7 separate regions of the Homo sapiens genome follow, and all the other regions are linked to region 1. The links are contacts of gene promoters, found by promoter capture Hi-C in human tissues and cell types (Jung and others, 2019). All regions are on one chromosome and are shown on one strand. Each heading gives the region's core, a stretch centred on a gene start or on the middle of the fragment in contact. The rest is flanking DNA. Distances are from core to core; before and after follow the strand shown. Region 1 holds the start of PTPRM (protein tyrosine phosphatase receptor type M). Region 2 overlaps PTPRM (protein tyrosine phosphatase receptor type M). Region 3 overlaps PTPRM (protein tyrosine phosphatase receptor type M). Region 4 overlaps LINC00668 (long intergenic non-protein coding RNA 668). Region 5 has its middle 150 kb from the start of RAB12. Region 6 overlaps PTPRM (protein tyrosine phosphatase receptor type M). Region 7 overlaps ARHGAP28 (Rho GTPase activating protein 28).

Region 1 (2,967 bases), core at 297-2,796:
GTCATCCTGGTTGTAAACCCCTGTGACAGCGTGCCGGGTTCGCCCCCACGCCGGACCCCCGACTCCGATCCACAGATCCTCTCCGTGAGGGGTTCCTCTGGGCTTAGAACGCCCCCGCGCGCGCGTGCAGGCACACACGCGCACACACTCACACGCTTGCTCGCACACCGCCAGTGCCTCTCCTTCCCACCTGGGACCCCCGGGCAGCCGGGCTGGATGAACAAGTTGCAGCTGGCCGCGGCGCTCCGCTAGGGGGACGAGGGTGGGGAGGGGGAGCCCAGCGGGGCGCAGGGCCGTGGCCAGGGCCTGGGGACCTGCCCGCTTCCCTCCGCGGCCGCCAAGCCCTACCGCTGGGACCGGCGAGGAACTCCCCCCAGCCTCTCCGCAGACGCTGCACGACCGCGGGGACCTCCCGGGGTCGCCAGCCGCGCCGGGCAGGGGGCGACAGGGAGGGCAGGGCACCGGGAGATCGCCGCCGCCGGAGCGGCCGCCAGTTCCCGGCGATCGCTGCGGGCGCAGCCGAACACCAGCGGCCTGGGCCCGGCCGCTGCTCGGGGTCGGCGGGGACCGCGCAGCGCCTACGCCAGGCGGCCCGGCGGCTGCAACTGGGAACTTCAAGCAAAGTTTTCTGCTGTTCCTTTTGCAGCCGGCCAGGGACTCAAGAGTGCAAGCCGCCCAACCTTGAGCACTAGCCCAGGCCGCGGAAGGACGGCGGCCGAGCTGGCAGTCCCGGCTGGGGAGCTCGCCCTCGGGGTCCGTCCGCTCCGCCCGCCCGAGGACTGGGTGCCTGCCAGCCCCACGGCCCCTCGCCCAGCGCCCGGCTCACAGGCAGAAGCGGTGTCCGGCCCGCCGCGCCCCCCGCCCGGCCCCGACGCCAGCCTTAGGGCTCTACCACCAGGGAGCTGTCGGCGTCCCGGGCGTCCCGCGCCGGCCCGCGCGCCTCGGGGGCGGCAGAGGCGGTCCCGCTTACCTGAGAACGTCTCGCCCGCCGCAGTTAGCAAAAGTCCGGCCAAAGTCGCCAGGCAAGTCCCAAGTCCCCTCATGGTGCTGAGTGCGGGCCGGGCCGCTCCCCGGCGGCGGTGGGTGGGCGCGCGAGGGCGGAGGGGGCCGGGAGCTTTGGTTCCGAGGCAGCGAGGAGAGACGGGTAAACAGCAGAGCGCTAAGCCAAGCCCCCAAAGTGCCAACAGTTGCAGAAGTCCGAACTCCAGCGGCTCCAGGGGCGCGGGCACAGGGTCCTGGGTCCTCCTCCCCTGTCCCTGGCCCCACTCGGCGTCTGGCGCCGCTGGCAGAGGGAGCGGAGGGCGAGCCCGCGGAGCCAAAATCTTCCCTCGGTTCCGGTTGCTGAGCTCGCCGCCTCTCCCCTTCCCCTGCCCGGGACCCGGGACCCGAGCTGCCGGCCGTGGCCGTGGCGGTGGCCGTGGCCGTGGCCGCGCGCGTTCCGCCCGCCGCCTCTCCACAGGCAGCCCCAAGCCCAGCCCCGGGCGGCGGCGCGCCGATGACCGAGCCCGCGCCGGCTGCGCGCGGGGCTCTTGCTCCCCGACTGACTGGCGGTGCCCCGCAGGCCGGCTGAAGGGAGCGCTCACGTCACGGCCGCCCGGCGCCGCCGCGGCCCGCTAGAGGGCGTGAGCGCCCGTGCCCCGCCGGCCCGCGCCCGAGCGCCTCCGGGAGCTCGGCTGGGGGCGGCCCCGCGGCCACAGCCACTACCGCCGCCGAAGCGGGCGTCAGCCGCGCGGGGAGGAGCGGCCACCGGGCTCCCCCCGCCCACCTCCTCGCCCCGGCCGCGTCTTCTATTTTGGTAGCTGGCTCTGGGGAGGGTGACTGTGGAAGAGGCTGCGCCGCCGCCAGAAGTTTGTCCCGGGTCACGAGCCGCGAGTAGTTTGTGAGCGCGGCCGGGCGGGACCAGCGGCCTGCGACCCCGCGGGCGCGGCCAGGCGGCTTCGAGCCTGGCGCCGGACGGCGATGTCACCGCACAGGGCCAGCTGCACCCGGAGTCGCCGGGCCTGCGCTGCTCGGCGGCTGCGGGAAAAGCGAGCCAGGAGATCGCTGAGGCTCCGGAGGGCTGCGAGCTTCTCTACGCCGCGGGCGGAGCGAAGTTGGCGGGCGCCGGGAGATGGCGCGGGAGCCGGGAGCGCCGAGCCCCGCGATCGCCAGCCCGCTCCCGGCCGGGCCCGCCGGGTACACGCCGCTGGCCCCGAGCACTGGCGCCCGGGAAGCAGGGCGCGCTTCTGCTGTTCTGCGTCCTCATCATGCCTCGGTGTCCCGTGTGGGCCCGAAGCGAGCCGCAGGCAGTACACGGAAGGCGGTGGTCACACCAAAACCAGGGTTTGGACATAACCCGTGGTTTCTGTATCTGGTGCAAAGTGCTGAGAAACAGGGGAGAAAGAGAAGTGGGGGGTGAATCAAGTAATGTCTTGAAATATTTTAGTTTTACGATTTTGGGTCTGAGTGAATTAAAAAAACCTTACAATGCTTCAGCAAAAAATAATTTTTTTATTTTAATTGTAAATTTTTTTGTAAGTGATCCTTCTATCTTCCAGGGAATAAGCACATTGAGCCAGCACCAACCAGACAGCTGTAAGCTCCTGGCCTAGCTAACTGAACGCAATAGAAGGCTTGGGAAGAGGTTAAATTAGGAACCAAAGTAACTGAGTGACAGGGTTCTAGCAATGATTCTGGCTAGAAGGCAAACCGGTGATACAGAGGCACCCAGGAGCTCTCCTGCACTTTTTCCGCAAGAGGGGTCCTCTGCTTAGTGCTCACTGCTTTCTAGTGCTTATAAACACGTAAAAAAATAAATGGATTCCACACTCATCTTGACCCTGTTCTCCACTGTACACCAGAACCAAGAAAGATACAGCTGTCATCCTCCCAAGGCAAATTTGGGGACTAGAAGACTTGCCTTTAGTGTGGCAACCAACACTCCTCTTACTTCAGGAAGTCCACTTACTAGATACTTACCAGACCTGC
Region 2 (3,203 bases), core at 670-3,169, 610 kb before region 1:
TGGTGGCTCATGCCTGTAGTCCCAGCTACCTGGGAGACTGAGGCAGGAGAATTGCTTGAACCTGGGAGGCGGAGGTTGCAGTGAGCTGAGATTGCACCACTACACTCCAGTCTGGTGACAGAGCAAGGCGCCATCTAAAAAAAAAAAAGAAAAGAAAAAAAAAAAAGAGGGATATTTAGGACAAGTCAGAAAGTCCAAGAATGGTGTGTCATGAATATCAAGTAGAACAGGAGTTAAATGTATGGACTGAACTAATAGAAGACTGAAATAATCCTTCCATTTAGAGCTTTTAACAATTGAGTAAAGTATATTCCTACAAACAAAATTTGGAGCATATTTGTTTCTCTGTACCTGATTTCTCCAGAATTTGGAAACTATTTTTGTGTATTCTTAACTTGTGGCAAGAAAAAGTTAACTTACATTATTTGCATAAGTGCAGTAATAATCTGACTTCTTTCGCAGCAGGACACAATTGGAGAAACTGGTTGTTTTACCAAGGCTTTGAATGGAATGGCATGCTTTCCTTTAAGGAATCAAATCTGACTTATAGAGATAATAAAAGTCCCTTGGGAAAGCTGGCCTCATACCTTCTGTATGCAGTCCCTGTACAGTGTTCCTGACCTGTGGTAAGTAAAGAATATCACTTTCTCACAGGCCTAGGAGCACCAAGTTATCTTGGGACCTTAAGAGGTGAGGAATGTACCCAACTCATACAGGTATTTGATGGTACAAACCCACAGCTAGGCTTATGGCTTTAAAACATTTTATCTGAGATCCTAATGGAACAAAGTTCCATCAAAGCCAAATTTATTTTTTATTTTATTATTATTATTATTTTTGAGACGGAGTCTTGATCTGTTGCCCAGGCTGGAGGGCAGTGATGCGATCTTGGCTCACTGCAACCTCCACCTCCCAGGTTCTAGTGATTCTCCTGTCTTAGCTTCCCGAGTAGCTGGGATTACAGGCACATACCACCATGCCCAGCTAGTTTTTTTTGTATTTTTAGTAGAGACGAGGTTTCACCATGTTGGCCAGGCTGGTCTCAAACTCCTGACCTCAGTTCATCCACCTGCCTCGGCCTCCCAAAGTGCTGAGACTACAGGCATGAGCCACCGTGCCCAGCCCATCAAAGCCAATTTTAAAAGGAGCCTATGTGGCAAATAATTATTCTTGCTGTGATTTATGCAAATAATCAGGCCAAGTATAACAAGACTAAAGCTTATTTTGCAAACAAATCAGTCCTATCATGATTTGTTTTTAATGAAAATGGAGATTGGAGGGAGAAAAATTGTGTTTCAAGAATGACGGCAAACCTGTTAAAAGATTCTAGTCTCATCAGTTCTTTTTGAGTTTTTGTCTGCAATTTAGACTAACCTTGCTTATTCCTGTGAACAAACCAATGATCTCTGGCTATAGCTCAGAAGAAACGAGAGGGTGGGTAATGTAAAAATTTGGATTAATATTCTAATTCTAGGCACATACTAGAATCGGCTAGCAACTCCATGCACCCAACATCTGAAACTGGTGATCAGCAGCTTCCCAATAAGATCTCAGGAGTGGGGCAAGTGGGCTCAAGCATGCACACTAAGAGGCAAAGTGGCAGAGTTTAACTGGTATATGACCTTCTAGAATTGTTCAACTGCTAAGGGAAAAATGTCTTAAGTGAGCATGTGCACAACTCCAGTAAACACACTGTGAATACAGCCCCTCCCCAGTGCTGGTAGGCCACTGTGCATACAAACAGCTCATCCCAAGGGAAGAATCAGGGGAGAAGAGACACAAGACCCTGGAAGCATGCCAATATGTACAACCCCAGATCTAAGGTCAAACCGTGCACTTGACCCTCTCAAGTTGCCTACTTGGCCCTTTTCCAAATGTACTCTATTTACTTTCCTCCCTGCTCCAAAGCTTTTCAATAAACTTTCATTCCTGCTCTAAAACTTGCCTCATTCTCTCACTCAGCCTTATGCCCCTGGGTTGAATTCTTTCTTCTGAGGAGGCAAGAATTGAGGTTGCTCCCAACACTTACTGATTTGCTGCTGCTAAGAGGAGTATACTTTTGTAACAAGTATAACAAGCCTTAGCCAATCACAGCAGCTGAGCTTCCGTCAATCACAGGAACCAACTAATCAGATCACTTTCAAATAAGGGAAACACTGCTGTAACCAGCCCAGCCTTTCTGTACCTGCCTTCTGTCTCGCATTGTGAAGGGGAACTCTGTGAACCTCTTCTGGTTCTGAGGGCTGCCAGATTTGTGAATCATTCTTTGCTCAATTAAACTCTGCTAAATTTAATTTGTCTAAAGTTTTTATTTTAACAGTAGGTTCTCAAAAAATGTGTTGAATGAATAAACAAAGAGGTGTGGAAACTGCAAAGAATTACTAAAGAAACTACTTACTTTATTGGTTGAATGGTTGGCTGAGAAAGTGTACACTGTGATTCTAAGAATATGCTTCTCATACTTTTATAAAGGTTAAAAAATACTTAAGTCATTTAGCTTTTTCCAAAAGGCATCAGTATTTGAACAAGTAATAAGAAAACACATCCCCTCAGAAAGGCAGGAGAAAATGGGGTTGACAGAAGAAATATGAAAAAAGTAAAAACATAATTGAGAAATCAGTGCACATTTTTTAAAAGGGCAGAAAAAAGGAGGGTCAAAAGACAAGATAGAAAAGAAGCAGATGTATTTCTGCTCAATCTGATCCACAAATAATTAGAACTAAACTGTCAACAGGGCTTTCAAGCTAGAGTGAAGGATATTAGTCACCAACTCTGCATGAGACTGGAGTCCTGACAGAGTGGCAGCCTTTATTATTGCCGAGGTTGACTTCCCTTCTGGAAGGTCACTGACCTTGATCTTTTTCCCTGACTGGCCTTCAGTGCTTTGCTAATCAGAGCAAAATCCTGCTTCAGTACCAACCGGGTGCGCCTGCAGTTAATCTTCCCATGACCTTTCTTCCAGACTCTCCTGCAAGTCATGTGGACGATCAAAATACATCATAAATTGCCATCCTGTTGGGGATGATGTGCACTTTGGTTCTCTTATTAACAGAGAACTTTCTTTTGGGTTAAGCTTAATAGTTGACAGCAATGTTCTATAAAAGGAGTACTGAATCCTACATATGTATACATATATTTTTTCACACAGGGACATTGTGAATAAAGAAAATCACATTGTCTGTGTTTATATTTGATGAATAATT
Region 3 (3,342 bases), core at 211-2,710, 650 kb before region 1:
TCTGAGGGCTGCCTGATTCACTAATCATTTTTCCTTGCTCAATTAAACTCTGTTAAATTTAATTTGTCTAACATTTTTCTTTTAACAATCCATTCAACATTGCATAAGCATCCCCTGTGAGCTCAGCACTGGGCTAGGTACTTGGGATGCAGGGTGACAATGACAGCCCTGGCCTCTGAGAAACTCACAGGTACTGGGATAGACGGCATGTGAAACCAACCCCCACAGCGACAACAATACAGGCTCCACAAAGTGCCAGGGAACACAGGGAAATGGGTGAGTAAACTTTGGGTTATAATTTGGATAATGCTTTTCTTCATGACCATTGCTATCCTAGTCTTCCTTGACAAATCCCTCCAATCATATTTGCAAAATAAACACCCTGTCAAATCTGCAATAGTTTAGTGGGAGGAAAAACAGAAAAAAAAAGAGACTTCAAGTCTAAGTTGTATCAAGTGCCTCTATTTTTCAAGGGCAATCACTTGACTATTATTTCATCTGATTATTCTCATTTTGTTCACTGAGATCTTACCTCATAAGGGTTTTGTACAGTCTGTTGATGAAGAAACTGCCCTCATGCTGATGGATCTCATGAATGATTATAAAGGAGATGTAGGGTTTAATAACATCCATCAGCACATAAATGCTTACATTTAGCTCAAAGAAAACTTAGGTATTAAGAGCATCGATTCAATGTAATTCAATGGTAATTGAATTAAAGGTAATTCAATGGATGACCAAAGAAAACACCCCTATTACAAAGCAAACCAGCAATTACAGACACAGGTGTCAAAACAGATACCCAAGAGTTAGATTAAGTCTTGGCTCTTTTTCTCAAAGGAGTCTTATTCAGGAGGAACTACAGCTTTCCTAACTCTTTCCTAATAAGCTTTCCTCACTTAGTGGATCCACCCACCACACACTGTGTTTTATCTTGATTCTCTCCTTGACAACTGGTTTTAAGTGGGACAGGTTCACATAAAGAATGCCCCAATCCTGCTGGTGGAGGCATACATTTCTCAGCCTTTTCAAAATAGCAAAAGAAAAATGAATCCCTTTGTGGGATATATGTGTGTGTATGTGTGTTGAAAAGTAAGAGTATCTTATGACTGTTCTGTGCTATGTAAAAGAACTCTGATAAATGGCTTGCATTATGTAATGTCTGCATGCTCAAAAAAGCAAGTTGGTACACAGTTTGAAGGACATAAATTCAGAAGCACTAAAAATACTTTAAAGTTCGGAAGTCATCACTCATAGTTTCCACATCTTCTTGGTCTTGTTTTTTCCTTCATCTCTAATCTTTTATCTCCTTCCCCTTTAATTCTCACCATGTTTCTTCAGCAATTTCATTAAAATTTGCAATTCTTTATAATGATCTAGTGATTGTACCATGCGGTAAAAGAAAATCCTAAGCTCCCCACTGACTTGTAGCCAAGAGGAACTCAGAAAAATCTTAAAAATTTTCCTGAGTTCCTGGATGTGATGGGGAGGTCAGACACACCTCGTTATAGCGCCCCCTTTTGGAGTTTAGGCACAATAATTGACCAGCATTAATGTTAAAATAGAGATCATAAGATTGACTAAACATACTCTTTGTGGTAATGATATATCAAATTATAAACAATACCTAAGGCAAGGGTTAAGTCATGCCTGCAAGCCACTGCTTTTGTTAAGCAGGTCATATTGTGGCTGACTCTGACATAGCATGCTTATCTTAACTTAAAACATTCCTTTCTGCTAACTCCAAGTTTTTAGACCAAGTTTTGTTCCTTTAACCAATTGCAAATTAAAGAATCTCTGAATCCATCTATTGACTTGTAAGCCTCCACCTCAAGATATCCCACCTTTATGGGCTAAACTAATCAATATCTTCCATGTATTGATTTATGTCTTTGCCTGTAACTCCTTCCTCTCCAAAATGTAGAAAACTGTAATCTGACTCTCTTGACTTTGTCAGGATCTCTTAAGACTGTTTTTCCTTGGGCCACGGTTACTCATATTGACTCAGAATAAGTTTTTTTTTTTTTGAGATGGACTCTTGCTCTGTCACCCAGGCTGGAGTGCAGTGGCCTGATCTCGGCTCACTGCAACCTCTGCCTCCTGGGTTCACGCCATTCTCCTGCCTCAGCCTCCCGAGTAGCTGGGACTACAGGCGTCCTCCACCACGCCCGGCTAATTTTTTGTATTTTAAGTAGAGACGGGGTTTCACCATGTTAGCCAGGATGGTCTCGATCGCCTGACCTCATGATCCACCCGTCTCGGCCTCCCAAAGTGCTGGGATTACAGGCGTAAGCCACCGGGCTTGGCCAGAATAAGCCTCTTAAAAATCTTTTAGAATTTAGTTTTTCCATTAACAGAGCACTGGTTCCTAAATGTACTCTAAGGTAAGCATCAGGAGATTAGAACTTGCATAAACACTGAAGCTAGAAACAATGCCTTCACTGGAAGCAAGGGGACTTCCCACGCCCTGCAAGTCTCCAGGATGTACTGCATGATGCAGAGAGCTCCATCAGTTTCCCTCCACACTCTCAGCCCTCTCTGGAAAGAAATCCTGGCTATGATCATTCATGGAGAGGTTTTATCTTCCTGAGTTCTAAGAACCAAGAGTTACTACTCTTTTCCCAAGAACATGTTCTGAAAAAGTAGCCAAAGAACCTAAATTCAACTTATTCTTTGGGGGCATCACACCAGTGTTCCATGCAAGAACTGCCAAGAGAAATGTCAAGGCGGGCACTGCTCCTTTGTATGCGTGTAAGTTTTAAACATGTAGAAGGTTTTGACAACCATTACCCATGCTTCATGCACAAAAGTAGGAAAGGAGAAGACAGAGGGCAATTGAGAATCAAAAAATCTCTTTCCTTTGAGCGCTACACTGACCCTCTCCCATGGCTCCCCTTGTCCCCCAAGAGTGCAACAGATAATCTGCTGTTTATTCAAAACCACCTACAGAAGTTAATAGACAGTTATAAACTAATTGAGTGCCTCTGTGGTGCTGTCTCCCCATTCATCTTGCTTATTCAATTTAACTCCCTTAGTCTTCCACAAGGCACAGTGTCCCTGCTGCTCCCAATAGTTGCTTGCTGCAAGAAAGGCCCTAGAACAACAGGAAGCTAATAGTTTAACCGTTCTTCTAAATTTGTTTGACAAAACTGACATTTAGTGCATTATGTCACGTTGTTGGTAATCTGCAATTTACCCCTGGGCGTGCAGTGGATGCTCATTTTATTTACCTCTCATAGTTAAAAGCGTAATTAATATTCCACTCTGTAACAAAGATTAGAGATTTGACAAACATTGTAATTTAAATTCTCCATTATAGCAAACATTAAAATCAAACATCTT
Region 4 (3,250 bases), core at 596-3,095, 640 kb after region 1:
GGCCTGGTGTAGACCCCGGGAGGCTGGGCGGGGACGCTGGGCGGGGACCTGGTTGAGGACCTGGGCGGGGACACTGGGTGGAAACCCTGGGTGGGCACGCTGGGCGGGGACTCTACAGGGCTCTCCCTCTGGGTAGTCACATTCACTTGTTGAGTTGGGTGTCCATCTCCTCTGCATGTGGATTTTACTGACTTCTTATAATTGTCCTTGGTAGAAATCAGTGATAGTTTATTCAGAACTGGGGATGAGCTCAGCATAGCTGACACAGGCTGAAAATAATTCCTATAGTTAAGAGAGCTGAGGAATTTCCCCAGTCCATGCTCGGAGAGTTAGTTTGCTGAATTGGTGGCTTTCTGAAAGCCTCTGCTCTTCTGGCATGTCTGTCGTCATAAGACAATATTTCTGCCTGTGGTACATATACCTCTGTGGGATCCTTAGGTGAGAGAGGAGTGGCATATGATGGAGGGTTCTGAGAGCATCAGTATGTCTGCCTCTGCTGATTGGCTTTTACCATTTTTATTTTGAGGAGGTGTTAACCACCGAAGGGAGGTAGAATGTTTTTCCCCACCAGAGGAGGCAGCGACCACGTCTCCTCTATGGAGGCATTCAAGAGCCGTCCAGCTGAAGCAGCATCACTGTCTGAGGTAAATACCTGGGGTTCACCATCTTGCACCAAGAAGATTAAAGACATGGACACATGTGAGTGGGTTGAGGAGCGGAAATTTTAATAGGCTGAAGAAAGGAGAGAGGAGAGCAGCTTTCTCTCTCTTTCTAGAGAGAGGCATCCAAAAGGGAAAAAGCCGGCCTGAGGTGGACCACAGCAGACTTGATAGGCAGGCTTGAGGAGGCGGCGTCTGATTTACACAGGGCCCACAGATTGGTCTGATCAGGTGTGACGTTTACATAGCGCTCGGGGAAGGCTGGTCGTCCCACCCTAATCTTATTAAACAAATGGGCTTTCTACTTGGCCAGTACCATCTTGTCTGCTCCTTACTATACACGCGGGTGGCAAAGACAGGAGAAGATGGAGCCACCGTTTTGAACGTGTCTATTCCCAGGTAACCTTTCTCTGTTGGCACAACCACCAGTATTAGCCTATGCAAGCTTCCAGCTTGCTTGTCTGTGCCTGCAGCTTGATTTTACAGGTTGTTCTTTGTTAGAAAAGAAAATGATTTGGGGCATTCCTTTTAATGCTTTTCATTAAAAGGAAAACCTTACCAAGGACTTCCTTATTCTGTCTGCCTAAATAATTTATTTTTAACTCTTCTATCACAGCTCGGAAGGCACAATCCACATAGGTCTGCATGGTCCACCGAGCTGCATACCCACGGGGCCAGCGGGAGGTGGGCAGCTGCTGGGCTCTCTTCTGAAGCAGGTGAGTATGGAGTCCCCTGTTTGTCTGCAAAGAAACAGACTGCAGACATTGCTGCAGTCATGGTCTCGGCAACGTCATCCCTGATCTAGTGGAAGGCCAAGGTCTCTTTCTAGCAACTACATAAGTAGAGATGGAGGAGAACACAAAACAGGAAGACAATTTTTCCTTTTTCTCTCATTTTGGGCCTCTTTTAATTACGAATGCTGACCTTTGTCAGGGAATCATTTTTAAGAAACCTTTCCTTCGTGGGGAGGAAAGTTATGCAGGTGGTTTATCCCAACCTGATTTCTTGACCCAAGTTACTGGGCGAGTTTTCTCGCCTGCATTGAATGCTGAGCCACACGGGAAGGAGAAGATTGTGCTTTCGCTCTACTTATTGTAATGGGAGCATTATTTTCTGATGGTTGTAAGACATTTGTCAAGCGATACAACCTACCCAATTAGGAGACTATCTGAAGAATCATAGCAATATTCAAAAGCTCCTCTCTAGTCTCCAAATGTAATGTAAACTTTTTTTTCTTTTCTTTTTTTACAGACAGGATCTCACTCTGTTGCTGAGGCTGGATCACAGCTCCCTGCAACCTTGAACTCTCCCTCAAGCAATTCTCCCCACTCTGCCTTCCAAAGCACTAGCATTATAGGCCTAAGCCACCACTCCCATCCACTGTAGTGTAAACTGTCTCCTTCAATGTTTCCAATAGTTGCGGAGCAGATCAGATAAGGGTTCTTCCTGTCTGTTGCTTCAAGTTTCATTCTCTCTTTAAACAATACAAGGTTGGCTTCCATGGTTCCTTCTTAAAGAATGTTGAAGGTGTGTCTTCAGATTCATTTAGTGTTCGTGGAACCCCAGGGAAAGCTGATGTAAAAACCTCTTTTTTCTCCCATATGTCTCAAAAAGTTGTATTTTCTGGGTCCAAGGGATCTGCAAGCCTCCTAAAGGCATTTCCATTGTCACTACCACCAGGTGTGAACTGTAATCTGGCACGTATAGTTCCAAGAACTGTCATAATAGATGCTGAAGAAACATTGTGAAGTTAACTCGCTGTTACCAACTGTGAAGTCATTAGCTAGAGGAATCTTGGGCGGTCTGAAATCTGAGATACTGTGGAAAGAACAGAAAGATCCTGTATCTTTCCTATAATTGTTCTACTGGAAGTTGTCATTTTACACAGGAGACATTCTGTTTTATTTATTTTCTTTTGAGACAGGGTCTCACTCTGTCGCCCAGGCTGGAGTGCAGTGTTGTTACCACAGGTCACTGGTGCCTCCACTGCCTGAGGACTGCTCAAGCAATCCTCCTGCCTCAGTCCCCTGAGGAGCTGGGGCCACAGGCCTGCACCACCATGCCTGGCTAATTATTTTTATTTGTAGAGACAAAGTCTATCTTGCCTAGGCTGATCTCGAACTCCTGGGCTCAAGTAATCCTCCCGCGGTGGCTTCTCAAAGTGCTTGGGATTACAGATGTAAGCTACCATGCCCGGCCTCACAGGAGACATTTTTGATGTCCCTCTTGACAGTCTACAAAAGTCTACAAATCTTTTTTTTTTTTTTTTTGAGACAGGGTCTTGCTCTGTCACCCAGTCTGGAATGCAGTGGTGCCATCATAGCTCACTACAGCCTGAGCTGTACTGAGCTCGAGGGATCTTCCCGTCTCCGCCTCCTAAGCAGCTGGGACTACAGGTACTTGCCCCCAGGCCCAGATAATTTATTTAAAAACTTTTTTTGTAGAGACAGGGTCTCACTATGTTGCCCAGGCTGGTCTCAAACTCCTGGCCTCAAACAATCCTCTACCTCAACCCCCCTAAGTGCTGGCATTACAGGCATCAGCTGCCATGCCTGGCTACAAATCTTAATGTTTTCCCCATGGCTTCTTTT
Region 5 (3,212 bases), core at 638-3,137, 890 kb before region 1:
ATAAATAATGGTTGTAATTGCAATTGAAAGAGAAATGCTTCCCACTTTGATTAATCTGACCCTCTGGGCTACCATTAGAATGCTAATCAGAAAATAAATGCAGAGAGGCAGACTCAGCTCGGCAGGTGTCCAGCTCCGCCTGGTCTTCCCCAGCCAAGCCCCTTGCTCTCCCTGCCAACCCTCCTGTCTTTTGCACTGTCACCTAAAACATCCCTCTGTCAAATAGGAAACATCACATTTCATTCCCAAAGCTTTCTTGCTCTTTCAAAGCTCTCACCACTAGAGAAACATCCTGGCTGGTACTTTGAACATTGCCCACGTGATTTTAAAGAACTGTGTGGCCCCTGGTGGCTTGGTAAGTTGGCTATGTGGCTGGATCATTATCCCCATTTTACAGATTATTGGGTAAAGACACTGAGAGGGGAGTGGCATCACCAACCAGCTGGTGGGAGGCAATCATAGAAGTAAATGTGCTTCTCGAAATCCAGCCTTGCAGCTGTGTCTCTGGCAGGAACTGCAAAAGCTCTCTAGGGCCACCTTCCCTGCTCTTCCTTCTTCCTGGGTCACCCTCGGGGCTCCTGGGCTGCTCACTGCCTCGTCTCACCCACTCCCTGTCCCATCTGGCTCACTCAAGCATATAGAGCCACTGCTTCTGATCAGCCATTTCTATTTATTTATTTATTTATTTATTTTTGAGACAGTCTTGCTCTGTCGCCCAGGCTGGAATCAGTGGTACAATCATGGCTCACTGCAGCCTAGACTTCCTGGGTTCCAGTGATCCTCCCACCTCAAGCTCCTGAGTAGCTGGGACTACAGATGTGAGCTACCATGCTCGGCTAATTTTTAATATTTTTGTAGCGATAGGGTCTCACTATTTGAGACCCAGGCTGGTCTCAAACTCCTGGACTCAAGCCATCCTCCGGTCTCAGTCTCCCAAGGTGCTGGGATTACAGGTGTGAGCCACCGCACCCAGTTGATTAGCCATTTCCAACTCTGCAGCTCTGTGTCCTTTTTATACTACAGTGGGCGGGTCTTAGAGTCTCAGTGGCAGGAAGAGAGACCAGCGGACTGACCCAGGAGGCAAGCTATTCTGATTGCTTGTGGTCCTAGTGGAAACACAGACCAGCTGTCCCTTCTGTGGTGAGGGCAGGGCCAAAGTGCAAAGTCGCCCGAGAGAGGGGAAGCAGGTGAAATGGGAAGAGTAGACTTGCCATGTGGGGGCCTCCCGCCTGGCCTCCGGCTCCCTCACAAAGCCCATCCTCAGAGTTTTTTGTCACCAGTCACTGACGGCTCAAGTCCTATAGTAAAGGAACAGATCGCTCAATGAGAACATTCTGGACCTCAGTAGGGGAGGGGGCATTGTGAAAAGAGAAAGGCAGGTTCCATGTTAAACATGGGGGAGTGGGTTGGCCACTTGGGCTGGCCGACAGGCAGGACTAGAGGGACATCACCCTTGGGAACACAGGGGACTCCTGTCTTCCAGGTGACCCTCAGATCCCATCCCCAAACCCTGATGCTGGAAATGCTTTTCCAGGATCTAGAAATACTGTGTGCAGAAATGAACTACCAAGATGAGGTGTCTAGTCCTTCTTTTCAGGGAATCCATGCTGAAATGTCTTCATTTGAGTTCTAGGAGAGGTTGGAAATGTGTGGCTTCTTAATTTGTGTACAGAGCCTGGGGCCTCTGGATCCATTCTTAAAACAACACAGAGGCCACCTAAAAGAAGAAAAGATCTTCCTCTACCTAGACAATTTTCCTTACGTCGTAGTTAGTCATGTTAGATACAATTTATGGAAGGTCATTGGTTTGGACTAAGCTCCCGCACCAGGCCCAGCGGACCAGACAAAATGGAGTCACTCCTGCCAATTCAACACCACCAAGTGGAAACTAAGATCTTCAGCATGCCAAGAAGTTACAGAGAGAGGTGATAGTCAAATCCCCAAACAGGCCAGTTCTAGTGGCATAAGGAAGTCCCCTCTGCTTGAACCTTCACAAGAAAAGTAAGTTTGAAATAGCCAATCTGCTGTCTGTTCCCTGTTTCTGCTTTCCTCAGCCCTGTCTAGAAAACCAAGCTCCTCTGCTCAGCTCTTTGGAACACTTTCTATCTTATAGAACAAGGTGTTTCCCAATTCTAGAATCACACATAAAAGTCAAGTAAGATGTTTAAATTTTTTGTAAGTTGTCTTTTGACAGTAGTCCTGTGTTAACATCTAAGCATGGTAACTTTTTATTAACAGCCATTAAAAACGGTCTTTTGCTCATTTGTTCAAAATTCAGTGCCTTACACATTCTGGAACCAACCACCCTGCAGCTGACATAGCCCCTCACTTGATTCCAGACGGTGGAGGGCTCCTAGAGAGGGCAGCATTTTACAAGTGTTGCAACAAGACAGGGCCTCAGGAAGGGCTTTACCAGGGATACTGCAGCTCCCCACACATCAGGGATGCTGCAGCTCCCCACACACCCAGTTCCAATCACTGCTCCCTTCCAAAGATGGAGAGAGAAGATTCTCACACTGCTGTGCTTTTGAGCATTAGGCTTAGATTGAACCAGTTTTTGTTTGCTTTTCTAAACAATAAATTCTGACAGTCTCATATGTATATGTCTGTCTCCATCCTTCTCAGTCTACATCTGAGGCCCCCCTGTGGCTAGGCTCATGCTTCCTCCTCACCCTTCTCTCTTTATTTCTACCTCCCATGGCCTCAAGACTTCTCTGTCACTCTTAACTGGTCATCATATAAATATGAAATTCATTTAATCTTTTTTTTTTATTTTATATACCCTTCCCAAGTTACAAATGACTAATGGAATATTTTTATTCCTTTCTATTTCAAAAAAACAAACTAAGCAAAACCCCACCAACAATCCCACCACTGAGCTGCAGGGTCAGTGCAGCCCCTGAATCAGTCTTTACCACAGTGAGCCAGTAGATTTCCAAAGCCAGCTTCTCCATGTAGGAACATTCACTGATTACATCTATCATGCGATCAAAAAGGTTTCAGGTTTTCTCAGATATGGTAATCTCCAGGAGGAACACGGTTAGTGATGTAATAAAGGAAAGACAAGTGTATGAGATGTCCTCGTTCTCATGCCTCAGCGCCATGAGGAGTTTAGAGCACCATTCACGGAGCTCACCTAGGACTGAGCAGTCAGCCTTCTGGGCCTGTGTCCCTGGGAAATGCCTATTTGTGACTCACTTTCCAATTAAGCC
Region 6 (3,107 bases), core at 444-2,943, 680 kb before region 1:
CAACTTCCAGCACTTTCTCCCAACCCTGAAAGAGCTCATGCATACCCACACTTGTCATAGGTGTGGTGCTGGCAGCCTTGTGGTCTAAGGAACATCTTTCCTGAAGGTTTCCTCCCCAGAAACTGCTGTCTTATTTCAAAGACATCAAGACAGTATTATGATATCTACCTCTAGGGTCGCTCCTATCAGATGAGATCTGATGAGAACTCATTGCTCAGAGTGGGAGGAAAATGGAAAGTCTACTGCTGTGTTCCTTCTGTTGGCTTTATTGAAGGAAGGCAAAAAATAACGTCTAATAGCCGATCAGTTGTGGAAGCTCCGTTGGCCTCTGCAGCTGCCGTTTGTACATGAACATTTTTGGATTTCCACAGATACATTCACTTTCAAAAAAGTAACTGCCAAATTAAACTTCCTGTCCAGAAGTGAATATTCTTGTTGTTCAAACTTCAAACACCTAGAACTACTAAAGAAGATTCTTGCTTTTGGGATGAGTGATTCTAAGTAAATTGATTCTTGAGGAATTTCACCATGAAATAGAAGATTTGGAACGTTAATGGGTTATACTGCAAAATGAAGATGTATCTGTGTGGTCCCCTTCAAGGAATACCTGCTACTACAAAAATTCTAATCCTGTGTGTGGCCAAAAGGGCTTCTCCAATTCCAGCCCACAACGAATGCATCATAGGTTGCTTTCTTATGGCAGTTAAATAAATTATACATACATATTTTTAAATGAAAAACATTATATCTGCCACAAAAAAAGCAGAGAGAACTCTATGAAAAAATGGGAAGGAGCTTGGGTACACTGAGACCCCATAGCTTCTATTTCCTGCACTGAAAATGACAGGAAAGGGTAAAGAAAGAAGATCAAGGATGAAAGCAACAGTGCTGCCCTGCCCATTGGTGCCAAAGCAGCACCTGTGCATGCTCCACTGGGCCATGTGTGTGTGTAGTACAAACTGATGGAGGAGGATGAAGTGGGACAACTGCAGCCGCTACAAGCAGAAAAATGTAAGACTGAATTCGGAGCTCAGCCGCGTGTACGAGAAACGCAAAGCTCAGGGACAGGCACGTGCATTGACCACACTGTGATCTGGAAGAGGAGGAGTGGAGGGGAGCTGCAGTACCACACTGACCACAGTGGGTATTAGGACATGAGCCCACACCGTCCAAACTGCTCCCAGTCGCCCCACGCCAGATGCCATTTCTGTGCTCCTCACAGCCACAAGGCCCACCGGCCTTTAAAATACTACGATTATTTTTTTGTAACAGGAATAGCTGCACTTTAATTCCATCCCCATGCTGACCAGAATCCTGGTTATGCAGCTCAGGCCTGAGGCACAGATTTCACACAGTAAAGAAACCCCCGACCTTGAACTCACCAAAGTGTGCCCTAAACCACAGAGTGAGGTATCTCCCTCTGGTCTCCGAGATTACCAGGGACAAAGCAACTACTCCTTTTGTGCTTGATATAATCAATCTAATTGTTAGTTTCCTAAAATAATGCCTTCTACCTGGATCACAGGTAGTAGTATGGGAAGGCAGTAGCTGAGGTTGGTTTACACACCTGGTATGAAGCATAAGACTTGTGAAGCTGAAATAGAGTTTAATTTATTAATTGACACTGACAGCCCTATAATAAAGGCAGAACCTGTCATCTAAACAAATAAACAATTAACTTGTTACTGCCATTTAGTGAACTGTTTTTATAACAGGCTTCCCATGTGTAATTCCACACCTGGATAGTTTACAAATGGGATCTAAACAACAAGAAGGATGATGAGAAGCAGGTGCCTTCTTCCTCAAAAGAAGGAAAGCCTCGTGTCACTGCTCTCTAAATCTTTACAGAAACTGCACTGTGGTTTTCTGGACTCTCTGATCTGGTCCTATCACCTTTAGAACATCTCTGCTAAGCAACCTGTGGCACAAAGGATCACTGAAAATGACTGAAGAAACCAACACGGCATAAAAATTTCTTCAGGAAGCTTTTTTTTTTTTTGAAATCCCCTAGTACCACCTGGAATCTTGCAAAACCAAGGAGATGTGTTAGAAGCCAAGAAACATATGCACTTACATCTCCCATTCAGATTGTGCGTGTCCATGAATGAGAAAGCCTCGTCGCAGTTTGTGCCCTGCTCAGCATAGCTCTTGTCCATTGAGTTCACCATCACAGTCATCTCCTGTCGGGTGCTGCTCATGGTCTCTTTCCGCTTCTTGGCCAGTTTCCTTAGGATAAAGAATTCAATTATGTAGGCATGCATTTGAACGGGATACAGAGCTTTGGCATGTATATTGACAGATGTTCAGGAATAACATCTACTGAATTAATCCTATTCATTCAGAGATGGATGTATAGTGCCTTATTTGTGGCAAGCACTCTGCCAGGCTGCAGACACAGAGATGAAAAACAGGTACTGTCTATCCTCAAAAAACAAAACAAAATAAAAAACCCCAAACAACCAGAAAGATAAAACACCACAGCCTAAAACACTGTTTCTCCTATTATAAGCTAGATTAAAATGACCAATGATTCTAGTACAACACAATCATAATCTAATTGTTACACTCCTAGAGTTACTAAGTTTTTACGAAATTATTGTCAACATCACCATATACAGTGTCAAAGAGAAGACTCCCTTGAGTAAATATTTTCCAAGCAAAAATGAAATAACAGATGAATCTAAAAGGCACATTGTTAAAACTAAAGAACAGAACTAGGTGAGGAGTCAAGAACGTATAATTGGAGTATGTTCATACAGGGAGCAGAACCTGACACAGAACCTACAAAGCTCAGAGAGCTCAGGCTGTAGGAGGATCAAGGGGAAGGTACTGAATTCTCAAAAGGCTATGACCCTGTCCCAAATCCCAAATGAACCCAGATTAGTTCCCATCAAGTTTTGTCAACCCCTACAGAGCAGAAGGTTAAAAAATGTCATGTCGCTGGGTTCCCTGCAACGTTCAGCAGGAGTAAGGCTTCTTTGTTCCCTCTTTCAGTGGAAGAGAATGAAAAAAAAGCAGAGAGATTTCTAATTCTTTTGGAGACATAGGTTAATCCTGGCCTCTGCATCCTGCTCGCTGACCATCAAAAACTCAACATCTAAAATGAC
Region 7 (3,002 bases), core at 265-2,764, 660 kb after region 1:
AAATACTAGAAGTGATTAGAGTTCCATATTCTAGATTGGTCTTTCTTCTGGAAGGACCACATCATCTTTCCTTTACTTTTATAAAAAAAAAAGTCATGAGAAAGCTTCAGTTGAATTGGTGAACCGGCGCCTCTTCCATAGTTCATGCTTACAATGCCCACTGCTGAGGGCCAGAAATACTGAGAATGCTGTAGGAACAAATACGTCAAACACAGTGTTGTTTTTTCCCTACCAAAATGTAGGATCTTTTTGGCATATAATACATGATAGCAGCTCTCTCGAGGATATTTTAAGAACTTTGTTGGGGTTTAATCACCCATTCTGCTTGAGGATTTATACGATATACATCCAATATATAAGCATCTGGATCCAAGCAATGCTCTCCTAAAAGAAAGAGAAAGATCAGAGAATTAGTGTACATTTGTGTGTGTGTGCGTGCGCACACATATGTGTCTGTGTGTGTTTGTGAGGTTCAAATAAGGTTAATATAGTTTTCTTGGCCAAAGTAAGTAGACATATGTTAAGGTTTCTTAACAAACTCTTCTTCCCTCTTCTCCCTCTCTCCTTTCTTTTTTTTTTCTTTCTTTAAGACTGTGAAGTATGGGTATATCAAACAAATCTCATGTGAAATTTTGGAAGAAAGCAGACATACCATCACAGGCAAATTGTTCCCTTGCTTCATGGCATCAATTAGAAAATTATGGCAAGGGCTGGGCGCAGTGGCTCACACCTGTAATTCCAGCACTTTGGGAGGCTGAGGCAGGTGGATCACTTGAGGTTAGGAGTTTGAGACCAGCCTGGACAACATGGTGAAACCCCATGTCTACTAAAAATACAAAAATTAGCCAGGTGTGGTGGTAGGCGCCTGTAATTCCAGCTACTGGGGAGGCTGAGGCAGGAGAATCACTTGAACCTGGGAGGCTGAGGTTGCAGTGAGCCAAGATCGCACCATTGCACTCCAGCCTGGGTGACAGAGTGAGATCCCGTCTCAAAGAAAAGAAAAGAAAAGAAAAATATGGCAAGAACTTGTTTCAGGTATATTAGCATATAAACTCATCATTTATATGCTAATACATGTCCTCCAGTGGTTTTATAGATAGGTACTTGACCAGAGCTAGAGAAGATTCAAGTCAAGTTCATTTTAGGAATGGTCATTTTGTTTCTTTACTATGGACGTAAAGCCCATGGGCAGGAAATCCCAAAATGGTAACAACTAAAAGATCATTTCCTGGGGCAAACGTATTCGAAAGTCTTTACGTGCAGTGTGCTTGAAATGTATGCTGAAGTCTCAAACAAAACTACCAAGAGCTGGCCGAGCGCGGTGGCTCACGCCTGTAATCCCAGCACTTTGGGAGGCCGAGGTGGGCGGATCACAAGGTCAGGAGATCGGGACCATCCTGGCAAACTCAGTGAAACCCCATCTCTAGCAAAATTAGCCGGGCGTGGTGATGGGCGCCTGTAATCCCAGCTACTCCGGAGGCTGAGGCAGGAGAATGGCGTGAACCCGGGAGGCGGAGCTTGCAGTGAGCCGAGATCGCGCCACTGCACTCCAGCCTGGGCGACAGAGCGAGACTCCGTCTCAAAAAAAAAACAAAGCAAACAAAACAAAACAAAAAAACAAAACTACCAAGAGCTGTGTGAGTGCTAGGTTGCTTGATTCATTCACTTACCACATATTAATAATGCGCCAGGCACTATTCTAGGGGCTGGGTTTACAGCCATGTCTAAGAGCAGCACAAGGCAACTAACAAACAAACATGATATCAAGTAAGTCCACTGGTGATAAGAACATGAGAGAAAGACCAAGCATGGAAGGCATGTTCGGGAGGGTGCGAGGAAGGAGGGTCTCGCTGAGAGGCTGATTTATCCGCAAAGACCTGGCAGAGACCAGGGACTGAGAAGTGAGGCTGTCTGGGGGGAGGGCATCCTGGGGAAAAGTCAGAGCAAATGCAGAGGCCCCAGATCCAACCCTGTCAGGTGATTGGATTTACAGGTTTAGTGTTTAAAGGGACCCGTGGGATAGAAATCTCAGTGGCATCCACATACAGGTGTATTTAAAGCAGTGAGATGGATTGAGCTCGCCAAGGAAGGCAAGTGCAAATACAGGAGAGTTCCGAGGACTGAACCCTACCGTTCTCCAACCTTGAAAGGCTGAGAGGACAAGAAATAAGGGGCACAGGGTCTCCAGCAGCGCAGCTAGGAAAAGTGGGAAGACAGTCAGAAGCTTAGGGCATCCTTGAAGTCAGGTGAAGAAAGTGTTCTTCAAAGGAGGGAAAGATCAACTCAGGCAGTTCTAAAAACAGACGAGTTGTCTGGTGACCATGACAAGAGGGTGATTCTGGTGAAGTGCTGAGGGGCAGAGTGTGCCTGGAGTGGCTTCAAGAGATAACAAGGAGGAAGAAATTGGAGCGTAGACACTGATTCAAGAAGCTTTTGCTGTAAGGTGGAACAGAGAAATGGGAGTAGACTTAAAGGGGGGTGAAGAAATAATTTTATAAAGGTGAGGGAAATTGCCAATTTTTAAAATGCAGATGGAAATGCTACAGTTGGGAGGGAAAGGCTGATGGTGTGGGAGAGTGGAGGGTGCTGGTGAGAGGAGGCACTGCCCTCAGTGGGAGCACGGAGCACCCATGGGGCTGTGAGGATATTCACAGACCAAGCGGGGAAGTTTTGCTGATTCCTCCCCTGCTCCCCCAGGGAAATAGAAAGAATGAATTTGGGAGGAGAGTTAAAATAGGGAAGTTAATCAAAATGGTGTCATGCTTCTGAAAGTTCTTACAGTATTCTCTTTGTTTTGCAGAGTCTCCAGAGAGACTTTCCAACTTCAAATCACACTGAAAAGACCGAAGCCAGCCAGGCGCAGTGGCTCACACCTGTAATCCCAGCACCTTGGGAGGCCGAGGCGGGTGGATCACTTGAGGTCAGGAGTTCGAGACCAGCCTGGCCAACATGGTGAAACCCCGTCTCTACTAAAAATATAAAAATTGTCTGGGCGTGGTGGC

What was found. The method cuts DNA at HindIII sites, captures the fragments that hold promoters and counts their contacts. A contact is called where the count stands out against the background at its distance.
Region 2: a fragment that was not itself captured here is called in contact with the fragment with the promoter of PTPRM in region 1 in 2 of the 25 tissues and cell types used here (heart left ventricle and mesenchymal stem cells).
Region 3: a contact is called between a fragment that was not itself captured here and the fragment with the promoter of PTPRM in region 1, in 1 of the 25 tissues and cell types used here (lymphoblastoid cells).
Region 4: a fragment that was not itself captured here is called in contact with the fragment with the promoter of PTPRM in region 1 in 1 of the 25 tissues and cell types used here (mesenchymal stem cells).
Region 5: a contact is called between a fragment that was not itself captured here and the fragment with the promoter of PTPRM in region 1, in 1 of the 25 tissues and cell types used here (dorsolateral prefrontal cortex).
Region 6: a contact is called between a fragment that was not itself captured here and the fragment with the promoter of PTPRM in region 1, in 2 of the 25 tissues and cell types used here (lymphoblastoid cells and mesenchymal stem cells).
Region 7: a contact is called between a fragment that was not itself captured here and the fragment with the promoter of PTPRM in region 1, in 1 of the 25 tissues and cell types used here (lymphoblastoid cells).

Annotation. Positions count from the first base shown.
Region 1 is chr18:7,565,895-7,568,861 of GRCh38, reverse strand. It overlaps PTPRM (protein tyrosine phosphatase receptor type M), which reads right to left and starts at 1,546. Exons shown (of 33, transcript NM_001105244.2): 1 at 971-1,546. The coding sequence starts at 1,043. RefSeq lists a silencer at 1,496-1,865. The HindIII fragment of the contact is 7,623 bases long and covers 1-2,967 here.
Region 2 is chr18:8,176,423-8,179,625 of GRCh38, reverse strand. The region is part of intron 14 of PTPRM (protein tyrosine phosphatase receptor type M); the gene reads right to left. Among named protein-coding and RNA genes, the nearest start is that of RAB12, 430 kb to the left of the region's middle. The HindIII fragment of the contact is 3,418 bases long and covers 211-3,203 here.
Region 3 is chr18:8,218,152-8,221,493 of GRCh38, reverse strand. All of the region lies in intron 14 of PTPRM (protein tyrosine phosphatase receptor type M), which reads right to left. Among named protein-coding and RNA genes, the nearest start is that of RAB12, 390 kb to the left of the region's middle. The HindIII fragment of the contact is 4,468 bases long and covers 1-3,342 here.
Region 4 is chr18:6,926,245-6,929,494 of GRCh38, reverse strand. It overlaps LINC00668 (long intergenic non-protein coding RNA 668), which reads left to right. Exons shown (of 7, transcript NR_034100.1): 2 at 527-644; 3 at 1,276-1,375; 4 at 1,911-2,838; 5 at 2,937-3,055. It also overlaps the pseudogene SCML2P1. Among named protein-coding and RNA genes, the nearest start is that of LINC00668, 2.0 kb to the left of the region's middle. The HindIII fragment of the contact is 4,461 bases long and covers 1-3,250 here.
Region 5 is chr18:8,460,915-8,464,126 of GRCh38, reverse strand. No RefSeq gene overlaps it. Among named protein-coding and RNA genes, the nearest start is that of RAB12, 150 kb to the left of the region's middle. The HindIII fragment of the contact is 5,330 bases long and covers 1-3,212 here.
Region 6 is chr18:8,243,177-8,246,283 of GRCh38, reverse strand. PTPRM (protein tyrosine phosphatase receptor type M) reads right to left here. Exons shown (of 33, transcript NM_001105244.2): 15 at 2,075-2,226. Among named protein-coding and RNA genes, the nearest start is that of RAB12, 360 kb to the left of the region's middle. The HindIII fragment of the contact is 4,817 bases long and covers 1-3,107 here.
Region 7 is chr18:6,909,442-6,912,443 of GRCh38, reverse strand. It overlaps ARHGAP28 (Rho GTPase activating protein 28), which reads right to left. Exons shown (of 18, transcript NM_001366230.1): 18 at 1-384. The coding sequence ends at 290. Among named protein-coding and RNA genes, the nearest start is that of LINC00668, 19 kb to the left of the region's middle. The HindIII fragment of the contact is 3,345 bases long and covers 1-3,002 here.